Linked DNA regions of Homo sapiens: region 1 is linked to region 2. Evidence: promoter capture Hi-C in human tissues and cell types (Jung and others, 2019). All regions are on one chromosome and are shown on one strand. Each heading gives the region's core, a stretch centred on a gene start or on the middle of the fragment in contact. The rest is flanking DNA. Distances are from core to core; before and after follow the strand shown.

What was found. The method cuts DNA at HindIII sites, captures the fragments that hold promoters and counts their contacts. A contact is called where the count stands out against the background at its distance.
Region 1: a fragment that was not itself captured here is called in contact with the fragment with the promoter of CHST6 in region 2 in 1 of the 25 tissues and cell types used here (H1 embryonic stem cells).

The regions. Positions count from the first base shown.
Region 1 is chr16:75,638,902-75,645,429 of GRCh38, forward strand. KARS1 (lysyl-tRNA synthetase 1) reads right to left here. Exons shown (of 14, transcript NM_005548.3): 2 at 2,663-2,822; 3 at 1,283-1,448. Among named protein-coding and RNA genes, the nearest start is that of KARS1, 5.5 kb to the right of the region's middle. The HindIII fragment of the contact is 6,726 bases long and covers 1-4,801 here.
Region 2 is chr16:75,492,781-75,499,025 of GRCh38, forward strand. It overlaps CHST6 (carbohydrate sulfotransferase 6), which reads right to left and starts at 2,661. Exons shown (of 3, transcript NM_021615.5): 1 at 2,160-2,661. RefSeq lists an enhancer at 2,055-2,234 and a silencer at 2,535-2,864. The HindIII fragment of the contact is 2,567 bases long and covers 1,769-4,335 here.

The DNA.
Region 1 (6,528 bases), core at 189-2,688, 140 kb after region 2:
TCATGCCTGTAATCCCAGCACTTTGGAAGGCCGTGGCAGGTGGATCACCTGAGGTCAGGAGTTCAAGACCAGCCTGGCCAACATGGTGAAACTCCGTCTCTACTAAAGATACAAAAATTAGCTGGGCGTGGTGGCAGGCGCCTGTAATCCCAGCTACTGGGGAGGCTGAGGCAGGAGAATCGCTTGAACCCGGAAGGCGGAGGTTGCAGTGAGCCGAGATTGCGCCATTGCACTACAGCCTGGGGGACAAGAGCAAGACTTCGCCTCAAAAAAATAAAAATAAAAAAATAAAAAAAAATCTGAATACACAGATGTGAAAAGATCTCAGAGCACACTGTGTATCTGAGAATACTGAACTAGAATAACTAACATCAATAAATATTTTAGTGGCAGGGTGTGGCGGCTCACGCCTGTAATCCCAGCACTTTGGGAAGCCGAGGCAGGTGGATCACCTGAGGTCAGGAGTTCGAGACCAGCCTGGTCAATATGGCGAAGCCCCATCTCTACTAAAAATACAAAACTTAGCCGGGCGTGGTGGCAGGTGCCTGTAATCCCAGGTACTCGGGAGGCTGAGGCAAGAGAATTGCTTGAACCTGGGGGGCAGAGGTTGCAGTAAGCTGAGATGGCACCACTGCATTCCAGCCTGGGAGACAGAGTGAGACTATATCTCAAAAAAAAAAAAAAAAAAAAAGATTTTAGTAAAATCACTGCACTTTAAAGAAGAAATCTTTTGGGCATTTAGGTCCTGCCAGAAATTCTCTCTGGGTGGTAGGATTATGCGTAATCAAAACCTTCTCTCTGTGCTTCTTTGACTATTCTAAATTTTCTACAACTGATAGTTTTACTATTTGGTGGGAGAGGGCAAGGAAAAGATGTGATTTTTTTTTTTTGTTTTTTAAATTTAGGAAAAGAAGATCTCACCCAAGATACTACAACTCCAAAAGAGCAATGTTCTAGAAATACTGTCTCAGTGCAAAGCATTCTTAGGCCAAAGACTGGAATTCTTAGAAGCCTGAGACTTCTACCGCTGATTCTTGCTGATGAAGGGAATCCTTATAGAGAAAGCCCCTCTCTTTGTAGCACTACCTCATCTGGAATATGATTCCATGTCTCAGGGCTGCTCTGCTTCTTTCTGTATAGATATAATGGCACTGTCCTTAGTAAAGTAGCTTCAGACACAGGCTACTTGAGAACAAGACCAACCCAGACCTTCCCTTGTGCTACTGAAGCCGCAGGCCTACCTGCTGTGGGAGTTCAGTGATTTGCCAGGGAGAGTTCCTACCTGCCACCTTTAAGGTGATGTCAGTCAGGTGATCCCCAGGCTGCAGGTGACTATATTTTTGGATGAAGTCAGTGAGTGAGATGTCTACATGGAACTTGTGTGGGTATGGGTCTTCCCCATTGACCTTCAGCTGATGAATTGCTTGACTGCGGATTTTGTAGTATTGCTGTTAAAAAAAAAAAAAAAAAAGCCCTTCAGAAGTTGAACCTGGTCAGACCAGTGGGGCCCACCTAGCAGAGGGCAGTATTCTGCCCCCGAGTGACCCCAATACATTGTTTTCTTTAACCAAGACCTCTGCATTACAGGATTGAATATGGAGTGAGATTTGCACTTAAAATATGCAGGGCGGCCAGAGGCCAGCATTTCAAAATGCAAGAGTCAACAAAAAGAAAAACCTGAGTTCTGCCTAAAATCATAAAAGTTTAATTTTTAATTGGTACAGGTGGCCTTGTTGTCACTTTTGTAGACCACATTTGCATGGTGAGTCGAGTCACTTACGTTCTTAACTGCTTATGTTCTTAACTACTCTCCTACCTCTGGCGACACATCAGACTTTTCCCCAAGGCATGGGGCCTGGAGAATGTAAACAAGGAATACTCTACAGCAGCCTTTCTCACAAAGCTTTTCTGATGCAACTTCTCAACTCTGCTGTTTCAGGGGGAAAGCAGCCTCAGAAATACGTAAACAAATGAGCACAGCTGTGTTCCAATACAATTTTACTAGTAAAACCAAGGAGGGGCAAGGTGTGGTGGCTCATGCCTGTAATCCTAGTACTCTGGGAGCCCGAGGCGGGTGGATCACTTGAGGCCAGGAGTTCAAGACCAGCCTGGCCAACATTAACAGGGTGTAGTGGTGTGCGCCTCTAATACCAGTTACTTGGGAGGCTGAGGAAGGAGAATCACTTGAACCGGGGAGGCGGAGGTTGCAGTGAGATCACACCACTGCACTCCAGCCTGGGTGACAGAATGAGACTTTGCCTCAAAAAAACAAAAACAAAAACAAAAAACCAGGGAGGGAAGGATAAAGTGGGGGCATGGAGAGTGGGTTTGGCTGGTGGACTGTAGTTGGCCAGCCCCTGGTCTAAAGTAAACCTCAGGCAATCTTTAGAGAGACACTTTCCCTGGGGCCTCAAGGTCAAGCTAATTCCAAGGAAGGTTAATTCACTTGAATGCTGGACTCTCTCAAATGCCTTTTGGGGGTTGACATAAAAAACACTCAGGGTCTGTGCCTTTAACCAGATGCAGTGGGAGACCCTCCCTTATCCCTGGCAGTGACCTCAGGCGTACTGGTCCCTCCTACTGTCCAGTCCCAAAGAATCTGCCAGAAGCCTCATCAGAAGCTTTCCTGTGCCCAACCATGCTGGTGGCCCAGGGAACTCACATTTGGGTCCACGCTCTCTTCCTCAGGACCCACACCATTATCAGTGGTGTGGTTGGTGGCAGCAGCAGTGGCTTGGCTTAGCTGTTTCTCACTGAGCTCTTTCTGTTTGGCCTCCTTCTCTGCTACTTTCTTCTCAGCTTTCAGGCGTCTCTTCAGCTCACTGTTGGAAAGATGAAAGCGTTCAATGTGTTAGCTGCCTGAAGAGTCCTCTATGTTCTGCCCCTAGCAACTTATCAAAAACATGAATCGCCCAGGAGAAACGCTCTTGCTCAGTTCTATACCCCTCAATTCCACACCCACAGCTCAGCTCAAGTAGCTTGTCACTAAACTCTTTATGTGAAAGACACAAAGGGAAAAATAAGCTTAGAACAAAGATGTGAAAAATCACTCTCAGTCTCTGCTTGCCAGTCTCAGGTCCTTGGCATTAGGTCCCAACTAAAACCAAGATGTACCAAGACAAAGAAAATCCTATGCATTAGTTTTGAATAGGAGAAAAGGTTTTCTAGAAAATTAGAATAGGCTTTTCTTGAGCTAATTAGGTTAGGGAGCTCCTTGAGGACAGTGACTGAATCTTAGTTGTTTAGTATCCCCCTAGAAGGTGAAGTTCCAACAGTGCCAGGTCTTTTTTTTTTTTTTTTTTTTTTTTTTTTTTTTTTATGAGACAGAGTTTTGCTCTGTGGCCCAGGCTGGAGTGCAGTCACAATCTCAGCTTACTGCAATCTCTGCCTCCCGGGTTTCAAGAGATTCTCGTGCCTCAGCCTCCTGAGTAGCTGGGATTACAGGTGTGTACCACCACAGTCAACTAATTTATGTATTTTTAGTGAGACGAGGTTTCACCACGTTGGCCAGACTGGTCTCAAACTCCTTTCCTCAAGTGATCTGCCCACCTTGGCCTCCCAAAGTGCTAGGATTACAGGTGTGAGCCACCTGACCCCTCCAATGCCAGATCTAATACATGATAAGGCAACATCTCCAGCCCTCTGCTACCCCCTCTCTCTATCCCTCCCCTAAGAGTGAGTTAGGATGATAGTAAGGAAGAGCCGGCTCTTTAGCACTCAAGGAGACCTCCCCTACCAACAGTCTCTCCAAGAATGGCTGTCAGCATTAGTCTCACTTTGCCCACTGGAGCCTGACTTAGACAACAAAATAGAACGGTGTGCAAAGCAGTATAGTACAGGGGGTAATATACCATCTTTGTAGTCAGGCTGCCTGGGACTAAATTCCAACACACTTGTCAATTATGTGACTTGGACGAGTGAATTAACTTCTCACCTGTGAAACGAAAATAATAATAGACAACCCCCACCAGTTGTTATGGTGTGTAATGAGATAATGTTTGTATAAAGGGATTACCCTGACCCTGGCATTCAGCTAACCAAATGTGAGCTTTCTAGGTATCTTTTAGTATCTTAACCCTTTACTCTCTGTGCCTCATATAGATTTAAATACATTTCTGGTTAAATCACTTGGTATCCAAACTCTTGATACTTATCACTTGAACCTGAAAAACCAAAGTAATGCGGACAACTCTGAGCTGTTCTGTATGATATGTTCATGTCTCTTATAGTCTGAATTTGCTATCTGAAACCAGAAACTAAACAGATTGGTGTAGGGAGGGATATCTTTACTATTCAAAGACAATTTATGGATCATTCTTTCAAACCGCTGAACATAATCAAATATTCTGCAATAGTGAACCACAGCAGAAGATCCCAAGTCATGCCCGCAAACATTCTGGCTTCAGGACACATCCTTCATTTTCGATATGAATTTAGAATAACTTTAAAAAATGAATTGAGGTTTTGAATCTTTCACCTTTTTTTTTTTTTTTTGAGACAGAGTCTCGCTGTGTTGCCCAGGCTGGAGTGCAGTGGTGCGATCTCAGATCACTGTAAGCTCTGCCTCCCGGGTTCACACCATTTTCCTGCCTCAGCCTCCGGAGTAGCTGGGACTACAGGTGCCCGCCACCATGCCCGGCTAATTTTTTTGGTATTTTTAGTGAAGATGGGGTTTCACCGTGTTAGCCAGGATGGTCTTGATCTCCTGACCTCGTGATCTGCCTGTCTTGGCCTCCCAAAGTGCTGGGATTACAGGCGTGAGCCACCACGCCTGGCCGAATCTTTCATCTTGTAAAAAAGAAAAACAGATTCTGAATGGTTTCAAAGTTGACAGCTTTTTCTACATATAATGTCTTATAACATTTGTAAAGACAACCTTTCCAAAACACTGTGCTGGTGTTATCATGCTATAATTCAGTCAGTGGACTGCTAAGATTAGGCTGTCTAGTTCTTCTAGAATTAAGATAAATCTGTTTTCCACTCAACCAGGTGCTCCTCTTAAATCAAATCAATCTTAAGGATAATCCAAAAAGGTCCTAGGGATAGCACTAAGACTAGAAACCAAATTAATCTCAAGAGCACACAAAACTCCAGAAAGACAGAAAAGGGAAATAGCTGGCATTAGAAATTATTTGTTCAAACAAAGGTTTTGTTCTTAGCACTCTTCTAGAATAAGATCCACATGTCATCTCAAGACTCTAAGGAGAGACGATTTGAATTTATTAAAGAGAAAATGAGAAAGGACTATTGGTTTTGGTATTAGGGCTCCTTGTTTCCTTAGCAACAAGTCCAAAGACTTAGCCAGAGGCTTAACGGAAAATGAACCAAGTAAGGAAATAATTTTTGCTTCCAGAGCAATAAAGAAGGTAATGGGCACCAACCTTCTTTGATCAGAAAATGACTTGTCCTTGTGAGGCGCTGTGAAAGGAGCAAGTTGACCCAGTCGCAGTTCCCTGTGACCCCACTCTGCCCAGGAGGTTTTGCGCAGGGACCCCCTAACAAGCCTTACAGCAGCTTGCGTCAACATGGCAGAGCACCCTGGAACTAATGATTACCACCACCTAGCGGGAAACACAGAGATGTGGTGTCAGATGGGACAGACAGTATACATATACCCAACCAACTCTCTTATGGGTTGGGGAGGGGGACCATGCTTCTACTACCTTTTAGTCCCATTTAACTTAAGACTGTCTTAACTGATAGCAACCCTGTAACACTCTCTGTGCTACAACTGTAACTGACAATGTTCTTAGTCCTGACTATGGAAAAAACATGCATATCTGGGGTAAAGCCAACAGCAAGTTAATGGATAGCTTACAGGTAAAATTGCTCACAACATCCTAGAATATGGGAACAGGATGTGAGGCACTTTCTGAAGCCCTGAAGTGTGGTTTCTCACCTGGAGAGGAAATACCTGGCCACAAGATGGCAATAGGAAGCATATAAAATAAGAGGAAACTGTCACTATCAATTGCAAACTCTAGACAAAGATAAATGCAAGCCACACAAAAATACGTGTCAAAGAGAAGACTTGTTTGGAACTCTAGGAACAAGGGGAAAGGAGAATTTCAGGAAGGTCCTTAGACTGCGTTATGTTTATACATTATCAACACTGGAAGGCAACAGAATTACAGAGATCACCTTCTTTACCGTGTTCAAATAAATTTGAGGAGGCTATTTCACTCGGGCAGGGAGCACATCTGCTTTTAAACTTGGAGTCAATACCTGGCACAAAATGGTGCTTACTAAAAATTTCAGACCAAGGAATTCCCCAGAACAATAAACGGAAGGAAATGTTAATCAGAAAAAAATTATTTTAGCTCATGGTAACGAGAGGAATAGACATCAATGACAGGTAAGACAACGTGAGTAGTGCTGTGCAGTCAGGATACAGAGCATGGACTGTGGAGTCACAGGCCTGAGTTCAGATCCGTGCTCCAGTGCTCTGGATCACTGCTAGACTATATTTTAGGAATGCACACTTTAATAGTGCATTTAATTACTAGGACCTCAGTTTATTAATTTGAA
Region 2 (6,245 bases), core at 1,411-3,910:
CGAAGCTGCAGTGAGCTGAGATCACGCCACTGCACTCCAGTCTGGGCGACAGAGAGAGACTCCATCTCAAACAAAAACAAAAACAAAAACCAAAACCAAAAAACACATAGTCAAATGCAACATGTGGACCTTGTGTGGATTCTGATTTGAAAAAAACATCTGCCAGGAGATACCCTAGAGGTAATCAGATATATTTCAATATTGACTAATAGGTGATAGTGAGAAATTATTATTAATACTATTATCACTACCCAGAACAATCTTGTTCATGTATTTCTGGACCCATTTCCCCGCCCAAGACACTAGAAGCAGAATGGTGTCTGTCTCATTAAAGACAGTAGGTATAGAGCACTGAGGTTAAGAGTGTGAATCCCACTTGACCATTTACTGAGCGATCTTGTGCAAGTTACTTCCTTCTGTGCCTGCTTGGTTAAAAAAAAATCTGGAAGGTCAGGTGCGGTGGCTCACACCTGTAATCCCAGCACTTTGCGAGGCTGAGGAGGGCGGATCACGAGGTCAGGAGTTTGAGACCAGCCTGACCAACATAGTGAAACCCCATCTTTACTAAAAATACAAAAATTAGCCGGGCGTGGTGGCGGGTGCCTGTAATCCCAGCTACTCAGGAATTTGAGGCAGGAGAATCGCTTGAACCTGGGATGCGGAGAGGTTGCAGTGAGCCGAGATTATGTCACTTTCACTGCACTCCAGCCTCGGTGACAGAGCGAGACTCCGTATCAAAAAAAAAAAAAAAAATCTGTAAAGTGGGGGAAACAATATAACCCAACTCATGGGCTTGATTGAAAGAGTGAGTGAGTGGATATTTGTAAAGCAGAACAAAGTCTGGCGCATAGTGCACTTATGAGTATTTGCTTAGCAATCTTCCTTCCTGGGCCACACTTATATTCTATGAATCCAAGGGAAAGTCTTTGAATGAGGAAAACCCAAGGACAATGGCTCTACCAGATTCAGGTGCCCCAGTGCCCCAGCAACAGAATGTGGCAGGCACAGACAGGGTCCCCACAAGGGCAAACAAAACAGAAGACGCTGGAAAGTCATGGCTAGAGGCCTGGCTTGTGTTTTTTCTGAGATGGAGTCTCGCTGTTGTCCAGACTGGAGTGAAGTACCGCAATCTCAGCTCACTGCAACCTCCGCCTCCTGGGTTCAAGTGATTCTTCTGCCTCAGCCTCCCAAGTAGCTGGGATTACAGGCACTCACCACCATGCCCAGCTTATTTTTGTATTTTTAGTAGAGATGGGGTTTCACCATGTTGGCCAGGCTGGTCTTGAACTCCTGACCTCAGGTGATCCACCTGCCTCGGCCTCCCAAAGTGCTGGGATTACAGGCGTGAACCACTGCGACTGGCCTTAGAAGCTTGGCTTCTGAAGCCGGATTGGGTTCAAATCCTGTCTCTACTACCAGTGAGGGGTGTGACTTAGAGCAAGTCACTCTCTGGCTCTCTATACTCCAGTTGACTCTGTTTGTAGAACAAAGCCAGAAAAGTTCCGGCCTCTCAGGCTGGAGAGGAGCCCAGCCCCAGCTCCCGGAGCAGCATAGCACCCTCAGAGGCCCTGGTACTTGGCCTACTCGCTTGTGGGTTTAAGTCAGCCAACTCCTTTCTGCTCTTCAGGCCTCAGTTTTCCCATCCTCAAAAATGGGAAACTTGACTGCCTTGCCTCTGTGAAAAAGGGAGGAGAAAGGAAAGTCAACATTTGCTAGGCACCTGTCCTGAGGCCCAGAGGGCCTGTCCTGAAGCCCAAGATGAAGCCGTCAGAAGCAGTGACGCAGGACTCCAATTCCCCTGGGTCTGGTTCCAAATCAACCCGCCAAGCTACCGTCTCTCAATAATTCTATGGAAAAAGCCCTTGGAGAGCTTTTGAAAGTCATGTCCTTTGAAACTCAAGTATCGAGACAAAAGGGGTTCTCCCCTCGCAGTGAGGATTCTCCTGCGCAGCCGAAGCCCCAGCAAGACACTTCCAAACCGGCGCCAACAGCGGCGATGCCCTTTCCACGTTGCTGATGGAAAAGCCACTCCCAGCTCTTCCCGCCACCCCAGGTCCCCGGTGCAGGACAGAGGAGCGTCCCCAGCTGTGCCACCAGCCCGGCCCCCAGCCGACCCGAGTGTGGGGACATCCCCCGCGGAGAATGAAGAACCAACGTACCCCAAAGCTTGGCGGCTCTGCCCGAGCTGCAGCGGCACGGTGGGGGACGCCTCTCTCCCTGGACTCAGCAAAGGCTCCCAAACGTCGTCTCTTCCAAATTCCACCGCACAGCCAGCTCTTTCTCTTCACTGGGAGGGTCCGCAGGGGCTGACTTGCTCCTTAAGGTCCCAAGACTATTAAGCGACACCCGGTGAGGCCGGGAAAGGGGCTCTAAGAGGCATGGACGAGAGTTGGCGGTGACCAAGCCACTGGAAGCTCCTGGAGACTCGAGGTAGAACGAATGTGGGAACAGGGCAGGAGTCCCAGAATGGGATGTTGAGGCTGGGGGTGTCCTGGGGCTACCACAGGGAAGGACCCGGCGCAGAGCTCCCTCTGGAACCCGGCACTGCGGCCCGCGCCCTCTACTCCCCGCGCGCCGGCCGGCAACCCTCGGCGCTGCCCGGTGCAGCCCGCCCGAGCGCACACAATGAGGCGCTTTCAGACGTGGCTGCGGTCCCGAGGTGGCCAGCGGGAGCTAGCGCCGTGGGGGAAGGAAGGAGCCGGTTGGCCCACCCCCGACCGAGGGGCCACGCCTCGGGGGAGGGGCGCCGGCCGAGGGCGGGGCAGGAGGGCCCAGGTGGGCTGGGGCTCTGAGAGGCTCAACTTTTAGCCCAGAATGTCAAAGGGCGCTGGCAGAGTCACCTCTCATCTGACTACAGAGGAACGTTGTACCCCACCCCACCCCAAATCCCCAGAGAAGGGGGGCTCCTGGGAGGACAAAGGCCCTAGTGAAGGAAGTCGAATCTTAATCTTGACCCTCCTCACTCTCGGGGGCATCCTTGCGGCGAGGTGACTTGGAATCCAAACCCTTCCCAAGGCCACGGCACCTGGATGACACATGGACCCGGTGCAGTGTCCCAACTGGGAAGAGCGGAGAGACCAGGTGGCCTTAGGAGCTGGGTCCGCAGCTTTTCCCCTCCTCCTGCGCATTCCCTGCCCTAGCCTAGGCCCAGAGGCGCAGGTTCATAGCAGGTCCAGATAAAGACATGATACGTTTCAATAAATAAGATATTTCCGGCCAGGGCTGGGCGCGGTGGCTCACGCCTGTAATCCCAGCACTTTGGGAGGCCGAGGCGGGCGGATCACGAGGTCAGGAGATCGAAATCATCCTGGCTAACACAGTGAAACCCCGTCTCTACTAAAAATACAAAAAAATTAGCCAGGCCTGGTGGCGGGCACCTGTAGTCCCAGCTACTCGGGAGGCTGAGGCAGGAGAATGGCGTGAACCCGGGAGGCGGAGCTTGCAGTGAGCCGAGATCGCACCACTGCACTCCAGCCTGGGCGACAAAGCGAGACTCCCTCGCAAAAAAAAAAAAAAAAAATCCGGCCAGGCGCGGTGTCTCACGCCTGTAATCCCAGCACTTTGGGGGGCCGTAGTGGGTGGATCACGAGGTCAGGAGTTCGAGACCAGCCTGGCCAACAGGGTGAAACCCCGTCTCTACTAAAAATACAAAAATTAGCCGGGCGTGGTGGCAGGCACCTGTAATCCTAGCTACTCAGGAGGCTAAGGCAGGAGAACTGCTTGAGCCCAGGAAGCGGAGGTTGCAGTGAGCTGAGATTGCACCACTGCACTCCAGCCTGGGCGACAGAGCGAAACTGTTTCAAAAAAAAAAAAAAAAAAAATCCCCTTTACAAATAACAGGGCAGAGCCCAGGCACCTGAAAAGGATGAAGCATTTCTAGGTCTTGTCAAATTAGTGATGGGATCTTAATCAAGAACTCCCTGCTGCTGGGAGAAGAAATAAGCAGTCCTTCCTGGTTGTGGTTTGGCAAGATGAATTAAGATTCTTGACAATGGTCGTAAGCTTTTCGGATTGGTAATTCCTTTCTAGGAGCTATCTTAAGGAAATAAACCAGAAACAAGGATTTATGTACAGGGTTCATATAAGTGTTGTTCATGATTTTGATACTGATTTTTTTTTCAGATGGAGTCTCACTTTTGTAGCCCAGGCTGGAGTGCAATGGCAGGATCTAGGCTCACTGCAACCTCCGCCTCTCGAGTTCAAGTGATTCTCTTGCCTCAGCCTCCTGAATAGCTGGGATTACAGGTGCCCACCACCACGCCAGGCTAATTTTTGTACTTTTAGTAGAGACAGGGTTTCACCATGTTGTCCAGGCTGGTCTCGAACTCCTGAGCTCAGATGTGATCTGCCCGCCTCTGTCTCCCAAAGTGCTCGGATTACAGGCATGAGCCACCGTGCCCGGCCTGTTCATGATTTTTAAAAAGTTAGAAATAGTGTATGGGATAGAAAGATGTGTGCCAGAAGGCCAACCATAACTCTGGGTAGGGGATTGGCCGGCAATCATTATTTTCCTTAGGATCATGTAATTTACATTTCCTTAATCAGTATTTAGAAGTTATCTGGCCAGAAAGCTCCAAAACCTCTTTACAAAGCATGAATAAGGAGAGGGGGCAAGGATGTGGAGGATAAGGTAAGAGGGACGCAAAGAGAGAGAATTGCTTTAATAAGCTTCAAGATGGGCACTCAGTGGGGCATTAGACACCTCACCTGCTTTGGCAGAAACTGGACTAATCATTTGGAAGAATTAGAGATTTCTCTCCCACAAAACAAATTCAATAATTATCTCAAATATGACTTATCTATGGCTTCAGCTCAGTTGATAAAATCCTGTGTATTTCTTACCTTTCTTCCTCCTGCAACTATGCTGTGTGGTTCAGTTTCAGAAACTACCAATAAATGATCCGTAAATAATTTGATATTCACCAGACACAGTTGTAATTTTCCAACCCGCAGCTCCCATATGCCATGTGGATTCCACTAAAAACTAATATACTTGGGGTTGGACCAGGAAACTTTTGCCAAAGAGCTAACAAAAGCTCCAAGGTCTTTGGGCAGAGCCGTGGCAAAGCAAGGCTACTGGTGAGTAACTCGGAGAAGTGTGCTCAACTTCAGCCCTCCCTATTCTTCCTCCCTCCAAAGCCTTGCTTCAAAAATAGCTAATACAACCTTCCATGTTGAACATTTTAATTAGAAAGCTACAGAACATAATGGATTCTTTATACAAGTTTTGCATTCAAATAATTTAATAAAATGCAAACCAAAGTTTATACGTATCTTTAGCCATCTTCCCATGTTTCATTAAATTCTGGGGATTTAAACCACAAGCAATTTTTCATTTCAGTCTCAAGAGACGGGGCACACTGGCCCATGCCTATATTCCTGGCACTTTGTGGGGCTGAGACAGGAGGATTTCCTGAGGTTGGGAGTTCAAGACCAGCCTGGGCAACATAGTGAAAACCCCATCTATAAAAATAAATAAATCTCAAGAAAAAAATTTAGGCATCTAAAATAGCCAGAATATTAAAAAAAGACAAGGGGGACAGTGTTAGAGAATTCCTCTGCTTGAATACTTCAAAATAGCTTTGTTTCCAAAACTGTTTTTAGTCAGCCTAAAGGAAACGGATGCTGGAGATGAAAAATGATCTCCAAGGTAAACTGAGGCACACACTGAGGGGTGTGTTTCTGGGTGGGCATGAAGCATGGATCACCGGAGCCATGTCCTTCCAGGGGCAACGACCTGCTTGGGATCAGGAAGCAGCTCCATGTGTTCTTGGAGGAGACTGCACGCATCCTCAGGAGGTGAATCGGCTGAACAAGCCATCTTCCGTGTGCAGAGGCCCCTTCCAGCCATCTCTGCTCCTGCAGACACTTGCTTAGCCACGAGGATAATCCACTGGACTGCTTGGTATTCTGCTAGTGGCCAGGCTGGACTGGCCTGCCCAGGCCAGCATCCTCTTTACACCCTCACTGCTTCTTGTGTCCTTCCCAAAGCTGCCCGCCCCACTCTGATGGGCACCCTTTTCCTTAGTCAAGGGAAACGCCAGCCGCTGGGCTTCCCGCTAGCCTTCCAAATAAACTTGTGGTTGTCAGGCAGCGGGAGCCAATCCCAACACCAACCCCTGTCGCCCCTGTCCTTTGCAGGAAGGGGGAGGGCTGTCAAGGAGGAGGAGGGCCAAGTGCCCAGGCTGTTGGGTGAGGGCCAGAAAGAACCTGTTGTGACAATGCTTTCTTCCCCCAGTGCTGCT